Regions from separate parts of the Homo sapiens genome. Here region 2 is linked to region 1. The links are contacts of gene promoters, found by promoter capture Hi-C in human tissues and cell types (Jung and others, 2019). All regions are on one chromosome and are shown on one strand. The core of a region is centred on a gene start or on the middle of the fragment in contact, and the rest is flanking DNA. Distances in the headings are between cores, read along the strand shown. Region 1 holds the start of PLG (plasminogen). Region 2 has its middle 63 kb from the start of PLG.

The links. The method cuts DNA at HindIII sites, captures the fragments that hold promoters and counts their contacts. A contact is called where the count stands out against the background at its distance.
Region 2: a contact is called between a fragment that was not itself captured here and the fragment with the promoter of PLG in region 1, in 1 of the 25 tissues and cell types used here (liver).

Annotation. Positions count from the first base shown.
Region 1 is chr6:160,698,565-160,703,968 of GRCh38, forward strand. PLG (plasminogen) reads left to right here and starts at 3,680. Exons shown (of 19, transcript NM_000301.5): 1 at 3,680-3,789. The coding sequence starts at 3,741. The HindIII fragment of the contact is 7,159 bases long and covers 996-5,404 here.
Region 2 is chr6:160,762,605-160,768,077 of GRCh38, forward strand. No RefSeq gene overlaps it. Among named protein-coding and RNA genes, the nearest start is that of PLG, 63 kb to the left of the region's middle. RefSeq lists silencers at 4,440-4,549, 4,610-4,739. The HindIII fragment of the contact is 3,667 bases long and covers 1,627-5,293 here.

The DNA.
Region 1 (5,404 bases), core at 2,430-4,929:
CTTTCTTTGTAAATACTTGAAAGGAATTTACCATTTTAATGCTGGAAGAGACGTCTATTCCTTCTTAAGAGGACCTGAGTGGATCTTGATTGCAGGCCTTATGCTGGGCAGAGCTAAGGAGAATTCAATTTGTCTCCAATCTTATTTGAATGTTCTTTTTTTTTTTTTTTTTTTTTTTTTTTTTGAGACAGAGTCTTGCTCTCTCACCCAGGCTGGAGTGCAATGGCACGATCTCGGCTCACTGCAACCTCTGCCTGCTGGGTTCAAGCAATTCTCCCACCTCAGCCTCCCCAGTATCTGGGACGACAGGAGCATGCCACCATGCCCTGCTAATTTTTGGTATTTTTAGTAGAGATGGGGTTTCACCATGCTGGCCAGGCTGGTCTCAAACTCCTGACCTCGTGATCCACCTGCCTTGGCCTCCCAAAGTACTGGGATTACAGGCATGAGCCACCGCGCCCAGCCTATTTGAACGTTCCTATGCCTGCTACAAGTGCAGCAGCAGAATCTCCACACATCTTGCGTGCGAAAGTTTCCTGTAGTTCCTTTAGCATAGAGAGGCTGGGGAAGGTTAGAGACTGACTTGTACTCTTTAGACATATAGTTGATCATTGAACAACACACGTCTGAACTGTTACACACAGATTTTTTTCAATAAATGTGTTAGAAAATGTTTTGGAGTTTTGCAACAATTTGAAAAAACTCAAAGACAAACCATCCAGCTAGAAATATCAACAAAAATAGAAAAAGTTAAGTATGTCATGAATGCATAAAATATATGTAGATACCTAGTCTATTTTATTCTTTACTACCATAAAATATAACAAAACTATTGCAAAAGTTAAAATTTAGTAAAAATTGTGTACACACTCACAGATCGTATATGGTGCTATTCTCAGTTGAGAGAAGTGTATACAAACATCAAGATGCAGTATTAAATTGTAACTGCATAAATTTAACCGTAGTGCATACCACACTATGGTAATAATTTCATATCCTCCTCCTGTTGCTGTTGCAATGAGCAAAGGTGTTGCGAGTATCCACTTAAAACGTTCTGTGATACTCAACATTCCATCATGAGCAGTTCATCCCCAGTGAATTGCGCATCACAGTAAAAAGTGCTCTCTCCCTGTTCGCATGTATTTTTCGTCCTGTTTCGTGCTGTACTGTAAACCTTGAATAACACCATGGGATCCAATATGAAGTGGCACTAGTGATGCTGGAAGTGCTCCCAAGAAGCAGAGAAAAGTCATGACATTTGACATTACAAGAAAAACTGGATTTGCTTGATATGTAACAGAGACTGAGGTCTGTAGCTGGGGTTGCTTCCATTTCAGACAGATGATTCATCTTGTAAACAGGTGGTGTAAACTTACTGTATGGAAAAATACATAACAGTACCACAGATGTATTTTCTCCTTACGAACATTTCCTTTTCTCTAGCTTACTTTATTGTAAGAATACAGTATATCATACATATAACATACAAAATACATGTTATTAACTGTTGCTGGTCAACAGCAGGCTGTTAGTAGTTAAGTTTTTGAGAGTCAGAGTTATACCTGGATTTTCTACTGTGTATGGTCAGTGTGCCAACCCCTGAAATTGATCAAGGGTCAACTGTAATCCTAAAAGAATCTAATACAATATTGTAAACAGTAAGTGGTCAATAAATAAGGAATTGAACTAATAAGAATACATAAATCCCAGAATATGTGCAACCTGATCATAGTACACAGAGATCTCTCTATATATCTCTTTTCTTAGTTCATGCTGTTCTTTCAGGTAGAAAGCGCCTTATTTTGAATTAGTTGTCTTTAGAGCAAAAATCCCTCCAAGAGTGCTGTGTGGTTTCCTATGCACAACCTGGAATAGTCCATTGCTTCATGCCTACCCTGGACATGAAGGGCCATGCCGCAGCGGAAGTCTCTATGCACCCACCCCCGTCTATACCTGAGCAACACATTCCTCTTTGCTGCTCTCTTACAGGCTACAGAGTGCGGTGGCGCCAGCACAGAGCTCTGCTCAACGTCCCTCTGTGCTTTCACGATGCTGATGGATTATGAAGGTAGGGAAGAATGTACAGCCAGGAGGCCATTAGGAGGGCAACTAATTTATAAAATCACATTTGTAGAATTTAATGCATCCAACAACTACCAGGGGAAAGGTGGGCAAAAGCTATACCAACACCACCCAAGTCAAAACCAAAACAACAGGAAAAGAAAATTATGTGGATGTAGAATTTCTGATAACATCATTCCCAAGGTGCCTTATCCAAGAGGAACTGCTACAATAATATTTTAAGTGGAAATAAATACATGCTGGAAGCATTATATATTAGTAGAGTATTTTTTTTTCCCAGAGTACTTTCTCAAGCACATCAACATGAGCCCCCTAAGAGACATTTCACATTAAAAATAAAATGTCTGCCCACTGCTGGTTTCTCAATCTGCCTCCACCTTCTGTCCCCTTTAATGAACTGGGCCATGAGGTGAGTCAGAGAGGATAAAGGGAGTGGTAAGAATTTGAGGAGAGAAGAGAGTGAGGCTAAAATAGGAAATCAGGAAAAGCGATTCGGTCCCCCTGTCCCTCACATGGGGCCACCCTCTTGTTGCCCAGTGTGGCTTCTTCTTGAGGGTTCTGCATGGTTCCTCAATCCCAGGGAATTCCGCAGGACATTCCACCCAAGACCATTGGGCTCCCACCTCTACTCTTTTGCCAGTTAATGAATAGGCAGGAATTTCACTGCCTGGAAAGAGGAACAATGCTTTCTGGTCCTTATTTCACATCTAAAATAGAGAGGTCAATTGATTTATTCCTAAATATCTTTGAACACTAAAATAGAAGTTTTACAGCATATATACTACCTGGTTGCTCTAGACTTAAGCCAGGGAAAAGTACAGATTCAACATTTAAAATTGAGATAGACGCTTTCCACTTAATGCTACCAGTCTTGCTTTATTTCATGAGAATGAGAATATAATAATATGGCATACGTTCATTTGGGGGAAAGATTGATGTCTTATAACATAATTTATAATTACAGAAAACATGTGAGTTCACTGGGAATAAATAAATTTTGAAGATAATAAGATACTTTCACTTATGTCGTAATTTCTATGTCATTTGGTGTAGGATGTAGAGATATTAACGTTTACACCTAACTTAAGTTTGTCATCTAAGACCTGAAGGGGTTTTGTCTATCAGCTGCACCCCTGGGTAGAGACACAACCTTGGGGAAGGCCTCAGCCCCATCCCTCGTACAGCAGGAATGAGAACAGCCCTGCCTGTTGGGAAGCTTGAGGGAGGCTATGGACGTGCAGCGCTTGGCAGAGGGTCTCGTCATGGAAGGTTCCAGCAAATGTGAGATACTTTTATGATTTCATTTTCTCCAAAAGAAAGGGAATAAGAGAAGAGGGGAGGAAATAAGACTAATTGCGAGAGATAAAGTACAAGGGTGAGGGAAGGAATAAGGAGACATGACGGCAGCGTGGAGCAGCCGAGGGGGGAGATTGCTTTCACCACTTCCCAGCATCTATTGCAGATTCCACCCTCAAACATGTTGTAAGGACTCTTTATTCAAGGTAATGTTTGAACCCTGCTGAGCCAGTGGCATGGGTCTCTGAGAGAATCATTAACTTAATTTGACTATCTGGTTTGTGGATGCGTTTACTCTCATGTAAGTCAACAACATCCTGGGATTGGGACCCACTTTCTGGGCACTGCTGGCCAGTCCCAAAATGGAACATAAGGAAGTGGTTCTTCTACTTCTTTTATTTCTGAAATCAGGTAAGACATAGTTTTTTTAAATTATAAGAATTATTTTTTCTCCCACAATGTAGTAAAAATACATATGCCATGGCTTTATGTGCAATTCATTTAATTTTTGATTCATGAAACTTCCAGTTGAAAATCTTGTATAAGATTGAGGAATTCTTCAAGAAATAAGTTTAAGTTTCCTGTGAAGATTGTCAGGGTGCTGGAATGAATGGGCAGAGAAAATAATGGGTGATTTTTCAAATCTAAATGAGTGCACCCACATAATGGCCAGTCTAATTGAAAAAGAGCCAATGTAGCTAATTATGCAAAGGACGGCTAAGCTCTTTGCCTGGTTCTCAGTTTGACTAATTTATATCATCTCTGTTACGGTGTCATGCTCCCCTCACTTGCAAGTTAAAACAGTGAAATATCTCTTTGAATATATTCCGTTCTCTCACCAGTTCATGGTGGCGGCAGGGTCGGGGACTCAGCATTTCTCCCTTTGTTATGGCCTGAGGAAGGCTTTCCATCAGTATACGTTTGCCTCTTATCCCCGGAAAAATCACACGCATCCATTTGCCAGATGCTGTGTGCAGATAGTGATCAACAAATACTCAGTTGCTTGGGTTAGGTCCCTACATTTTTACACATACATACATACCTGTGTGTGAATGTGAGTGTGAGTGTGTATCCTTTACAAATACTAGCTTATTTAGCTCGTGGTATAGGTAGGGTAGCATATTCATCCTCATTTTATAAACAAAGAAATCAGACTTAGGAATATCATGTTATTTGCTCAGTGACCAAATTCTCAGATCTGGGAAATAAAGAAAACTGGATTTAAGCCAGGTTTCCCAGAAGGAATCTAGGGCTCTTCTCACTTTTCAGCTTTGTTTAAGCCTTTGAAAGAATATTCTAAACATGTCCTAGTACTTCTTTTTCTTTAAAAAAAAAAAAGCTTTATTGAGATATAATTAACATATAGAATTCACCCATTTAGGCATACAATCCAATGGATTTCAAGATATTGAGAGTTGTGCAGCCACCATCAGAATAAATTTTAAAACTATTCATACCCCCAAAAACGCACTCCACTCTCCTTAGCTGTTACCCCCAATCTGCAGCTTCTGGCAACCACTAATCTACTTTCTGTATTTATATCTTTGCCATTTTGAACATTTCATACAAACGGAATCATACGATTTGCTAGTAGTTCTTCATGTAAATAATGTACGCTTGAAATTCAATCTATAAATTACCAGATAAAATTTTACAAGTTGCACTTTAGAGTCAAATACATTTGAATTTAGTGGAAGCCATTCAAGGAGCTATCAAAGAAAATACAGAGCAGGAGAAAATTAAAGAAATTTTTGTAAGAAATTGGTGTATGTTGGGGGGTATGAATATTATATTTCAATGCATGGAAACTAGGACATAGATCACTATGAACTTATTCAGTGGGCTACACCCAAAGGCTAGATCAAACTTCTCTGCCACAGGATTAACATATGTTTTAACCCACCTGGTGGGCACATTCTCTCATAAGCTCTTTTGGAAAGCCAGGTTTTCTGTGGATGTATCATCTTTCCAGTGTGCTGCAATGCCCGGGGAGAGGGAAAAGTTTCTTTTACAGCCATGCTTAGTG
Region 2 (5,473 bases), core at 2,210-4,709, 64 kb after region 1:
ATAGTTCAACATACACAAATAAATAAATAAAAGGATAAATGGATGATAAAAATGTGTGTATCCATATGTGTGTGTCTGTGTTATACACACATTTTTATATTATATATATATATACACTCACATATACACATTGTGTGTGTGTGTGTCTGTGTCTTATATACAGACACACACACACAATGGAATATTATTCAGCCTTAATAAAGAAGGAAACCCTGCCTTTGCATCAACATGGATGAACCTGGAGGACATTATGATAAGTGAAATAAGCCAGACAAAGAAGGAAAATACTGTGTAAGCTTACATATGGAATCTAAGAAAGTTGAACTCTTAGAAACGGAGTAGAATGGTGATTACCAGGGCTGGGGAAGAGGGAAATGGAGAGATATTGGTCAAAAAATACAAATGTGCAGTTTTGCAAGATAAACAGGTTCTGGAAATCTAATGAACTGAATGCTGACTACAGTTAACAATACTGTATTGCATACTTGAAATTTGCTAAAAGAGTTGATCCTAAGTGTTCTTACCATGTACACAAAAGTATGTGAGATGATGAATACTTTAATTAGCTTGATTATGGTAATAATTTCACAATGTGCATTTATATTAAAACATTACCTTGTACATCTTAAATATATACAATTTTTGTCAAGTGTATCTCAATAAAACTGGAAAACAATTGAAGAGTAATGAAAAAAATTAAAAGCTATTATGTGTCAAAGGACATAATCAACAAAGTGAAAAAACCTACTGATGAAGCAAATCTATTGACAAAGGCCTGGTATCCAGAATATATTAAAATCTCTAGGCTGGGCTCAGTGGCTGACACCTGTAATCCCAGCACTTTGGGAGCCCAAGGCAGGAGGATCACTTGAACCCAGGAGTTCAAGGCAGCAGTGAGCTATGATTGGGCCACTGCACTCCAGCCTGGGTGACAGGGTGAGACCACCATCACTTAACCCATTTCTTGTTTAGAAAAAAGAAAGTGCAGCAGTGCAGCTCACTGCCAGCACAGTATTCTTTGGGCAAACAAGAAGAGAAATGGGAGAAAAAAAAAAAAAACTTACAATTCAACAACAAAAAGAAAAACAAGAATGTAAAGAGACATTTTTCCAAAAAAGATATATAAATAGTCAACAAGTACATGAAATGATGGTTAACATCATTAGTCATTAAGAAAATGCCAATAAAGTCATAATGAAATAAGACTTCATATGCATTAGGATGTCTATAATTTAAAAAATAGAGAATAACAAGTGGTGGTGAGGATGTAAAGAAATTAGAATCCTGTACATTGCTGGTGGGAATATAAAATGGTTCAACCACAGTGGAAAATAATTTGGCAGTTCCTTAAAATGGTAAACATAGAATTACCATATGATCTAACACTTCTACTCTTAGGTATATAGACAAAAAAATTGAAAACAAGTACCCAGATACCTTGCATGAGAAGGTTCATAGCAGCACTATTACAAAAGCCACAAGCTGGAAACAACCCAAATATCAATCAATAGACGAGGGGATAAACAAATTGTGGCTTATACAGCCACAAAAAGGAATGAAGCACTGGTACATGCTGCATGGCTAAACCTTGAAAGCAAGGGCTGGGATGGGGTCATGGAAAGTAATAGCTTACTGTGTACTGCATTGTATTTTGAGGTAATGAAAATGTTTTGGAACTGGATAGAGGTGGTGGTTGTCGTGTACTACATAAAACTAATTGTCCACTTTAAGATGGTTAATATTCTTATGGGAATTTCTCAATTAAAAAATACCTTCCATGTATTCTAAGGATGATACTAGATTTCATTCAGTATCAGATACAGAGATTTGCTCTGGCAAAATGAGGAAGTAATTTTTTTGAAAAAGGAAGATGTGAGATTCAACAAATGGGGGATCAAATATCAGAGAGGCAAGGGGATCTTCTGGATGACAGTCCATGGAGATCCCACGACAGATGGACAGCAGGCCGGCCGTGCACCCAGGCCAGGCCAGGCCAGAGCAGGGACGATGGCTCCTGAGAAGCTCTCTCTAAGAACATTGCTAGATGGCCTAATGGGTTTGGGGGCATATTGAAAAGGTTTATAAAACTGAGAATTTGGAGTAGAATTAGAAAAATGACATAAAATCTTACAGAAAAGAAAACAACGAATTCTAGGGAGAAATATAAGAGTATACTACATGCCTCAGTTATAAATAGCATTTTCATAGTCATGAAGAAATATGAACACTGAATATTTACTTAACCAAAATTACAATATAATTACATAATTATGTTAGGTACATATAGCAAAAGGATGTGTGTGTGTATGTAGTATGTATGATGTTTGTGGTGTGTGTGTGGTATGTGTATGGTGTGTGTATGGTGTGAGGTGTGTGCAGTGTGTCTGGCGTTTATGGTGTGTATGTGTGTTGTGTACAGTGTGGTGTGTACGTGGTATGTGGTGCGTATGCTGTGTCTGTGTGTTGTGCATCGTGTCTGTGGTGTATGTGGTGTGTGTGTGCATAGTGTATATATGGGATGTGTGTATATGTGGCATGTGTGTGGTGTGTGTTTTGATGTTGATGGTGCATTAAAAGGAGTTAAATCCTAATATTCCCAGGTGGGAAGTCCATAGGTGTGTTAGTCGTTCTCACATTGCTGTAATACCTGAGACTGGGTAATGTAATAATGAACTATGTAATCAGCTACAGAGTTGAGGGTGTGGAGCTCACCCAGGACAGCTGAGCTACTGGTGTAAAATGAATGGTATTTTTAAAAATGGCTATTTGTAGAATTTACAGAACTAGGACACCCCAACCAAGGGTTGATAAGAAAGGACCCCAGGGCTCTGTCTCAGCTCTCCTGGCCACATCTGGAGGACATGGGCTTCTCCAAGGTCTCACACTTTCAGGAAGTGTTGATGAAGGATATGGAGAGACCTGAAGCTCTGGGCGCTGCGTAGTCTGAGAAGAGAAGCTTCGGGAACGTGGGAACTGAGTGCAGATACCGGAGGGCTGTCATCCAACAGAGGGAGTAGGTGACGACTGGCCTAGGGAGGGACCCTTATCAAGGCTGCATTTGTTGATTGCCTTCTTTGTGTGGGGCACTGCTGTGACTGCATTAAATTTCCATTTACCTAAATCCAATTTTGTGCGCTTGTTTTCTACTCTTGTAGGAAAGACAACAGCGACAACCTCAAGCCAGTAATCTAGTCAAAGGAGCAATTCCCAAGGCACGACATGTGGGGAATTCACATTCATTGGCACTACAGTGATTGCTGATAACGCCAACTTAATGCCTGGCCAACAGCATGGATCCTGACCTCCACTATTCTTGTGTGTTTAGAGAACCACAAAAAAGTGCAGTGTTTTCATTTTTGTTGCTTGTTTCGCAGGTCTACATAATCTACTTTTTAAAGTCAAAAACGGTCTTAGTGATGCACAATAAAAGTATAAACTCAGTATAGTGCATAGTATCTTTTTCATATACGTATGAATATATATACACTTTTACACATGTATGCATATGTATCATATGGGTCAAAACACTAGATGGAATGGAATTTTTTTAATTGAAATATTTTCTGGTTATTAAGCATATCAGCTACCTTTAAAGTATTAATTTTACTGTATTTATATTAATTATTGAAGCTTGAACTTCAGAATAGTGGAGGATAAAAGTTAAACACTGCAAAAAGATTTCTCCTTTATTACTTCTTCAAATCAGAGAAAAGACATTTAAAGAGAAAACAGGAAGTACCTTCCCCACTCCACATAACTTATGAAGTAAGCAGCTAATTGATCATACCATAAAGAGGCACCAAATAAAATCTGTGTGTCTCAAAACAGGAGCACTGCTTCTGTGAAATCAGTTAAAGTAAATACCCATATTGGTCATGCATTGAAACATATATTTTCCTAAGTGAATTCTCCATAATTCTGAAAATCAGTGAAAACATCATCTCATGTTACTTTAATCTACACAAAACCAAGCAGCGCATATGACTCTCCATGTTTCAGGGCATACACATCCCTTTCCACCAGGGATCAATGTGCCCTATGGGAAGCAACTTCTTGCCTTTTAAACCAGATTCAGTAAACAAAAATTGTTTTGTATAGCTGACACAGGATCACATCAATTGCACGAAAAAGATCAGTCTGTGGAAGGAAGGTTACAAAGTCAAACGAGGCACGTTAAGGAGGCCTAACCCATCACATTGGATGTTCTGCTGTTCTGTTTTTCGGGTCAGAAATACAGGTACTAGGACTCCCTGAATCCAGCAGGTGTTAGAACAGAGGAAGGCAGAGGGCAACCTCCTGCAAAACATCTACCCTTGCCAGTTTCTAATCCAGGGTCCAGGGGCTGGAGCATCCGGGCTCCCCGTGCTTGCGCTTGGAAGCAGAAACGCCTTCAACCCTCACTTCTCACAGGACCTCCGACCCACCTACCTGAGGCTCAGCCCCAGAGCCGGCGGGTGGACGGAGCGAGATCGCGCCCTGGAACACGGAGCTGGCGAGAAGGAGAAAAGCCCAGCTGGCGGCGTAGGGGCGAGGGTCCTGCCTTTCCCGGCGGCCTCGCCCTGGCCATCCTGGCCCTGCGGGAAGGGGTCAGCCCACCCGAGCCTCGTCCACCCCTCGTCCACCCCTCCGCCTCCCGCCCCGGCACCACGCCGCGCCCGCGTCCCCGCCCAGTGCCCGCGCCTTTGCGGGCCCCGGTCCTGCGGGGCCCCTCGCGCACTCCAGAAGCATCAGTATCCTCCGGGCGGCCACGGGCCAGCTGCGGCTCCCACCCTGGCGACCCTGGATTGCTCTCCCCATTCTCAGCCTCACCCCCCACTCCTTCCACCCCATATTTTGCCGCCTCGAAGGACATGAACCATCTGCTGGCTGAAGGCGCTTGGACCTGAAACCAGCGACAGGTTTTGGCAGCTGCACGCTCACTCCCAGGGAGGCGAGGGCGCCCGGCGAAGTGTGGGGTCTGCCGCCCCCTGCCGGCTTGGCTGACGTTCGCTTCTGTTTCCACGCTGCCCAGCAGTGTTCCAGGTGGAACATTTCAAAGGCAAGGCTGAGAATAAATGCTGTTTACAAATTCCAGAAAAGAAAAAAAAATGTTGCTCTTCTCTTTAGTAAAAGGTTTTCCCAGACAAGCCAGCACTTCTGTGGGTTGTATTTAAATCTTAAGTACATGAGAGCTGTTGCCTGCAGGCGCTGGTATTGCCCAAGGAGGGTAGTTTCAGGACAAAGTCTCTGAAAACTCCAGGCTCTTGGACGAAGCAACCTTTCCACATTATGTAGCATAATCTACCAGGTCCTGCGATTTACCCATCGTGCAAAAGGAGCAAGTCTCTTTAAAACAGGGCTTTCAGAGAGTCTTTTCAGGAGAAAAAAAATGTTGGAAGAACAGATTCGTTGCCTATTTGTTGTTGACTTTGCATCTAAACTGATCCCCTTAAAAGTATTTATGGGTATGAACGATAAATAATGAAAGGGATCA